Linked DNA regions of Homo sapiens: region 1 is linked to region 2. Evidence: promoter capture Hi-C in 16 types of primary human blood cells and fetal thymus (Javierre and others, 2016). All regions are on one chromosome and are shown on one strand. The core of a region is centred on a gene start or on the middle of the fragment in contact, and the rest is flanking DNA. Distances in the headings are between cores, read along the strand shown. Region 1 has its middle 170 kb from the start of MIR3194. Region 2 holds the start of KCNG1 (potassium voltage-gated channel modifier subfamily G member 1).

Region 1 (3,660 bases), core at 552-3,051, 260 kb before region 2:
TGGGAATGCAGTCCCAGCACCAGGCCAGGCCCCCTATGACAGTCTGAGCAAAAGAAAAAATCAGCCAGAATAATCCTGTTTTCATTTGCAAACATAATATTTTGCCTCATGGATATTTGCCATGGATCCTTTTTGCATTAATTTTGATTTTTTAAAATAGTGCATTCAAATATAATTTATCTTGATGACTGGGCTTTTAGGCCCCCTTACATTTTGCAGGTGGGGCTGGTGCCTCACTTGCCTCCCCCTGGGGCTGGCCCTGGTAGTTGCCATTGGAAGGCTGGGCTCCAGTCCCGGCTCTGCTATGACAGATCTATGCAGCCTTGAGCAAACTGTGTGGCCTTTGCAAAGCCAGTTAATTCATCTGAACAATAGGGATGACAGTACCAGCTGGGCTGGGTTAGATGAGCTGATGTATGTAAAGCCTTGTAAGTAGTGCCTGCGTGAATACAACGCACTTTCGTGGCAGAACATGCAACTCCTCGTCCTCCCAACAGCAGAGATGAGAAGCTCCCTCAGGGTCGGGCACTGGGCTAAGGGGTGAACATGCATATTCTAATTGAATCCTCCCTACAGCACCCTGAGATTTTAACCCTGGGAAATAAAACCTATTGTTACAGGTATCCCAGGTTTACAGATGAGGAAATAGGCATAGACCTCTACGTCTCTTGGCAAGGGCCACTCAACAGTAGCTGCAAGATCTGGGCAGAAGGTACCTGATTCTAACTTAGGTGAAGAAGAAAGCAGCAAGCTGCAATTATCACCCATTACCAAGCACCCCACACGAGATCAAACTCCAGAGCTGAGCTCACTTTACCGACATCCCTGATCATGAGATTTTGAGGCTGTTGAATTTTCATTGCTTGTGCTGCTTTGGGCCAGCTTTTATACCTAATATAACTGTAAAATCACCATCACTGATGTGTGCTTAGTCATGTTGACATTCTATGCAAATGGGGCAATGAGACCTTGGGACCTCTCTGGCCAAACCCAGAGCAGAAGAAGCATGGAAACAAGGATGTTCTCAACACACATCTAGCCTAGTGTGTGTGTCACCAAGCAGAGTCTGTCAGCTGCAGGAAGGACAGCTGAAACCTCCTGGGACTAATCGTTTGTTGATGAATCACTAGGACTTTCTCACCTCTTTAAATTCTCTTCTGTAGAGAAATCACATTTTTTCCCCCACCCAGTGTTTATCCCTCCTTTTTTGCTAGAACAGAATTGCAGTTTCCCTGCAGGTAGGCAACCACTCTCAGTCTATGGGGTTTGGGTGGGGCTGACCCCACCCTTAGGTCCTGGTGAATGCAGAACTCAGGCCCAGCCCATCAGAACTGAAGGTACCACCTGAGCTGTACAACCTGAGCTGTGCCTATTGCTACTGAGCTTGTGGGATGTAGGTCTAGAATTGTGGACAGCGTCCTTGTCACTCGATGAGAAGAGCTTGCCTAAAAACCAAGCTAGCAGAAAGGAAGGCAGAGCCCAGAGATGAATCTTTATTTTTTTATTTTTTGAAATCGTATAAATACCTGGATCCAGCCATGCCTGAAGCCAAATGCACCCTGGTTTTTCATTTACATGAACCTATAAACGCCTTTCTTCTTAGGTCAGTTTGAGTAGAGTTTCTATCCCCTTGCACGGGAGACAGTCCTGATAAAACCACCTCCTTGACTGGAGGACTTGAAGGTGGTGAATGTTTCTTATACTTTTTTGAATCCCTTAGAAAGCCTAACACAGTGTTTGACTCCCAAGAGGTGATCAGAAATGTTTGCTGGTATGGCAGGCAAGGTTCATTGTCTGCCCTGTAATCATTCTCCCTCCGTCCTTGCTAACAGTACCCTCACTTTGTCAGGGAGACAATGTGCTTAGCCATCCCCCACCCCCAAAATAGGTTGTGATTAACTTAAGCCAGTTGTGACAATCATGCCCCCTAAATTTCTCAGAATCCTTTGCAGTTAGGGGTGGTCCCATGACTTACTTCTGACCAAGAAGACCAAGGGGAAGTCTGCTGTGGGGCCTTCTGGGAAAGGCTTTGCCCTTGTAATGGAAAATGTAGCTATGCTAAGGCTGCCTTTTCTTCTTTTCTCCTTCTTGCTTTGAGCATAGTTGTGAGGTCTGGAGCTACAGGAGCCATTTTGTGATCATGAGGCAAAAAGCTAAAATGCTAAAGAAGGCAAAGTAGAAAGACATAAAAAAGAAAATGCCTAGGTTCCTCACATCCTATTCGAGCAGCTGAATTAAAACCAGTATTGCCCACCTCTGGACATCTTATGTGAAACAACAAATCTGTCCCCAACTCCAACATACATCTATTTGTTTAAGCCACTATTAGTCAGGCTTCTGCTGTATGTAGCCAAACACAGTTTTTTTGTTTTGTTTTGTTTTGCACTGTGCATAATTCAGTGGCTTGAGCAAAGTTTTTGTTAGAGTAAGAGTTTCTGGTCATTAGTCAATGGAAATATATCTGTATATACATTCGTTCATTCATTCATTTTTGAGACAGGGTCTCACTCTGTTGCCTAGGCTGGAGTGCAGTGACATGATCATGACTCACCATAGCCTCAACCTCCCAGGCTCAAGTGATCCTCTTGCCTCAGCTTCCCATGTAGCTGGGACTACAGGTGCATGCCACTGTGCCTGGCTAATTTTTATTTATTTTTTGACCAGATGGGGTTGGGGTGTGTGAGGGGGTCCCACTATGTTGCCCAGGTTGGTCTCAAACTCCTGGTTAGAGTGATCCTCCTGTCTCAACCTCCCAAAATGCTGGGATTACCAGGGTGAGCCACCACGCCCTGTCTGCATACACATTGAATATGCATCAAATGTACAGACTAACTTTTGAAACTAATACCCTTATAGTCTGTCCAACAGACACTTCCATGAACATGTGCTAAGGTCATAGAAACTTAATATTAAAATAGAACACAGAAAACTTCCTGAAAGGAGGAGCAAATCTCATTTGTGTGTATCTGACTGGCCCAACCTCAATAACATCTTGAGGCCCAGCAGCAAGAGGCTCTGGGACATGTAGTTGGTCACTTTCTTGCCTCTACAGATGGGAAGACCGGCTAGGATGAAGGTGAAATGGATGGTGTATGCCAGCTCACCACACCTGCCATGCCACCTTATTGTACCAACCCCAGCAAAAGATGGACCTTGTTGTATTTCAAAACTCTTTTAAAATTTAATCCTGGGGGTCAGGTGCAGTGGGTGGCTCACGCCTATAATCCCAGCACTTGGGGAAGGCAGGTGTGGGAGGATCACTTGAGGCCCAGAGTTTGAGACCAGCCTGGTCAACATGGTGAAATCTCATCTCTACTAAAAATGCAAAAATTAGCTGGGTGTGGTGGCCCACACCTGTAATCCCAGCTACTTGGGAGGCTGAGGCATGAGAATTGTTAGAACCCAAGAGGCAGAGGTTGCAGTGAGCTGAGATCACATCACTGTACTTCAGCCTGGGCAACAGAGTGAGACTCTGTCTCAAAAAATTTTTTTTTAATCCAATGCTTATTTGTCAGCGTTCTCCAGAGAAACAAAACCAACAGGATATGTATAGATATATAAGAGGAGATTTCTTATGGGAATTGGCTCACATGATTATGGAGGCCAAGAAGTCCTGCCATCTGCTGTCTGCAAGCTGGAGCACGAGGAAAACAATTACTG
Region 2 (3,675 bases), core at 617-3,116:
TTTCTCAGACATGCCTCCTTCTCTCCTGCTTGAAGGCCAGTGCCTTTGATGTTCTGTCCACCTAGAAAGCTCTCTTCCCATCTTGCCAGATGGGCTCCTTCTGGCTCAGGGCTCCATGTAACCATCACCTCCACAGGAGCCCTCCCCCATTATTCTATCTAAAGTGGCCTCTCTGGCTTCATTCTGCAATCACGTATTTCAGCAGTTTCCCAATTCTGCCAAGCCCCCAGTAGAAGGTGAGCTCTTGGAAACAGGTCCTTAGGCAGATCCTTGTCTGTCCAGGCCTCCACCTCACCAGTAAGCCAGTGTTTTTATTCTTGTTGTTTTAGAGGCTGGATCTCGCTCAGTCACGCAGGCTGGATTGCAGTGGTGCCATCATAGTGCACTATAACCTGGAACTCCTATGCTCCACCCGGCTGGGACTGCCGCGCAGGCTAGTGTGCCCTGCGCTCATTTCTTAGGGTTAACCCTAACCCACTTAATGAGCACCCACGACTCCCCAACCCGAGCCCCACTCAAGCAGAAGGCCTCAGGCTGGTCGGCAGCAGGGTTTCTTCATGTCCTTTCTTGGTTCTCTGATGATAGGCAAAGGCAGTAGAGACAGAAAGGAAAAGAGGAACGGAGTGCAAGAGACAGAAAGGAGAAGAGGAACGGAGTGCAAGAGACAGAAAGGAGAAGAGGAACGGAGTGCAAGGCAAGCCACCCTAAGAGGCCAGCCCTGCCAGCAGCACAGATCCCTCCAAACCAATAGGTCCCTCCAACTCAGTAGATTCCTCCAACCCAATAGATCCCTCCAACCCAACCTCCAGCATCTGTGCAGCATCCTACCAACTCCGAGGCTAGGCGGCCACACTGGGAGCAAGACCCCAGGACCTGGTCCAAGTGCCCTGCACCGGCCAGGGGAGTGGACGACGAAGTGCGGCTCTGCTAGCCCGGGAGGGCTCTGGGGCCTCGGCCCCGCGGGACTGGAAGGGAAAACACCTGGCACGGTACGTACTGGCCCTAGGAATTTGGCACAGCAAGATGCTGGCAGTCCCTGGGTGGCGGTGGCAGGAAGGGCCCAAGGGCAACATTGGTCTAGGAGGTCGAGAAAAGGCGCGCGATATATGGCCCCCAGGATGTGGAAGCTTGCTTGGAGCGTTCGGCTCCAGGGCAGCAGCGCGTGGAGGGCCTCAAGGATGCAGTATTTGCCCGGGGTAGGGGGGCGAGGGACCCAGAGGCAGCAGTGCACTTGGACTTCCAGGACTTCCAGGGAAAGGCAGGAGACATGGCGCATGTGGTTCCCAGGATGTGTAAGCGCGTGGAGCGCGGCCCCGGGGCAGCGGAGAGTGGGGTTTTAATATCTAGCACATGTAGACCCTGGGGCGGTGCTGCTAGGGGCGCGGACCCGGGACCACCGGAGCACTTGCACCGCGGGGAAAGCTGACAGGGCGCGCGACCCTAGGAGGCTGCCGCGCCGCCTGGTGCGTGAAGCTCCAGGGCAGCGGAGCGCGGGGACCTTGAAGGCTGTCGCGTGCAGGCGAAGGGGCCGCAGGGTGGTCGCTCCTGGGAGAGCAGACGGGGAAGAAGGCAACGGGAGGGAGGGCGTAGCGCGAGCAGTCCCGGACGCGGGCTCAGGAACTGGCCGCGAGGAGCGCAATCCAGCAGGCGCGCCAGGGCCCCCGGATCCAAGGTGCGGGGTCCCGATTGGGCGCCTGGACGCCCCGTGACGGTGGCGCCGCTGCCACTGTCCCGAAGCGAGGCGAGGCCAGGCGCTGCGCTTTCGGCTGCCCGCCCCTTCTCCCCGCCCCGCGCTCAGTCCCCTCCCTCCGTCCCGCCTCCTGCCTCGCTCCCTCCCTCGGCGGCTGCTGCGCCGCGCTCCCGGCGCACTCGGAGCCCGGCGGGGACCGGGAGGCAGAGACGGGGCGGCCGTGGCTCCGAGGGCGGGAGCTGAGCCGGGCCCCGGGACCGAAGTTTGGCGGCGGCTCCGGGAGGCAGAGCGGGCTCCCCGGGCGACTTCCAGGCCCCTCTCGCGTCCTCGCCCCGGACCCGTGGGCAGCCGGGGGGAACGGAAGCCGCGGCCGGGCCAACTCCGAGGCGGGGACGCCGCGACGGGAACTTGAGGTGGGAACTTTGCGCGCTGCAGCCTCGCCGGGCGCCACCGAAGCGCGAACCGGACCCCGAGCCTGCAAACTCGGGCTCGGGGGCGGCTGCACGTGGCCGTGGCCCTGAACTCCCTGCGGGGGCCTCGAAACCCGCCTGCGGGGAGGCCAGGGCGACAGAGGACTCGGGAGTCACCGCTGGTGCGTGGCGGCGTGGAGCGCGCTTGTTACGGCCAAGGTGCGGGTCCGGCTTCGGTTCATCCCAAGGGGTCACCGGGATGCGAAGTCCGGGACGTTCGCCGCCGCGGTGACCCCGGCGGGGGCGCATCCCGGCTGTGGGCCGAGGTTTCTCCCCCGATCCTGGGAGGAAGGAGAGTTAGGGATTGGGGTGGGGGAGTGTGTGTCACTTGCTCATTCACTGTATCCTTAGGCACAGTATGGAGCCCCCCTTCACCCCCACCGTGGGCCTGATTGAGTCATTCATTATGAACACAGCAAGCGTTTATTGAGCGCCTACTGTGTGCTAGGCACTGGGGATACTGAGACAGTTCACTGGGCACCCCCAGGAACTGGTAGGAAGGTGGTGGTCTCAGCCTTAGGGTTTCCATGTGGGAGAGAGGCTCAGCCCGGAGGTATGGAAGGAAAAGGGTGAAGTTCATTCATTCATTCATAGATTGGACAAAGATTGGTTGAGCACCTATTGTAAGCAGCTCATCATACCAAGCGCTCAACAGTCATTCATCCAGTTCACAAACATTTATGGAGGCGCTATGCTGGGGAGAAGTGAAGAGGGATGGAATGGGGGCACCCTTCATGCAGCTTAGAGAGAAGTAAGGATTAAGACCCAGGCCCCCGCTTGGGAGGCCGCAGACTGCCGGGGTGGCCAACTGTAGCAGCCCATGTATATAGGCAGAAGTCTTGGTTCATCTAATGCATTCCTTCTCAAGGTGGGAGGTGTGGAAGCTGGAATTGGTTCTAGAATAGGAAGAAAAGATCTTTTCAAAGCTCCTTAGGGGCGGGTGATGGGGTAGGGTGGGGAGGAGTTGAGAAACACTGATCCGACATTACTGAGGAATGCAGGTTCCCACCAATGGGGTTTATGAGTTAGGTTGTCCATTCAGCAGGCATTTTCTTAAGCACTCGCTGTTATTAAGCACTTAAAGGGTGCCAGGCACCAAAGTTACCCAGGTAAATGACAGACACATAGAAGAGGGAGACAGACACAGACGCCCCCACCCCCTTTGCTGACTCCCTGAGATAAGTACAGGGGGAAGTAAGAGGAGGGAGCAGGAACTGGTCTGATTCATTGTGGGGTGGGGGAAGTTCCTGCCCTATGAATCTGAGCAGAGGTTTATTCATTAGTGTGTGTTTGATACCCCCATACCCATGATGGCAGAGTCCCTATGAAGAGCCTCACCGGCAGCACATCTCCAAGAAAAGTTTGGCACTGCTGATTGGGGCCTTGCGGTCGGCACTGTGGCTAGGGCATGCTGTCCTTCTTTGGGGGATTTTTCAGGCTCTGCCAGACCTGAGCTCTATTTGTGCCTCCCCCGGCTTTTGGAGCCCTGCAGAGTCGCCTGATAGGAGGGGAAGG

Evidence for each region. Contacts are between HindIII fragments. The CHiCAGO score rates a contact against its expected background, and 5 or more counts as called.
Region 1: a fragment that was not itself captured here is called in contact with the fragment with the promoter of KCNG1 in region 2 in 8 of 17 cell types (endothelial precursors, M2 macrophages, naive B cells and 5 more); the score reaches 8.6 in endothelial precursors.

Annotation. Positions count from the first base shown.
Region 1 is chr20:51,281,755-51,285,414 of GRCh38, reverse strand. No RefSeq gene overlaps it. Among named protein-coding and RNA genes, the nearest start is that of MIR3194, 170 kb to the left of the region's middle. The HindIII fragment of the contact is 5,646 bases long and covers 1-3,660 here.
Region 2 is chr20:51,021,298-51,024,972 of GRCh38, reverse strand. It overlaps KCNG1 (potassium voltage-gated channel modifier subfamily G member 1), which reads left to right and starts at 1,866. Exons shown (of 3, transcript NM_002237.4): 1 at 1,866-2,103. RefSeq lists a silencer at 1,768-1,937 and an enhancer at 3,662-3,675. The HindIII fragment of the contact is 2,899 bases long and covers 1,130-3,675 here.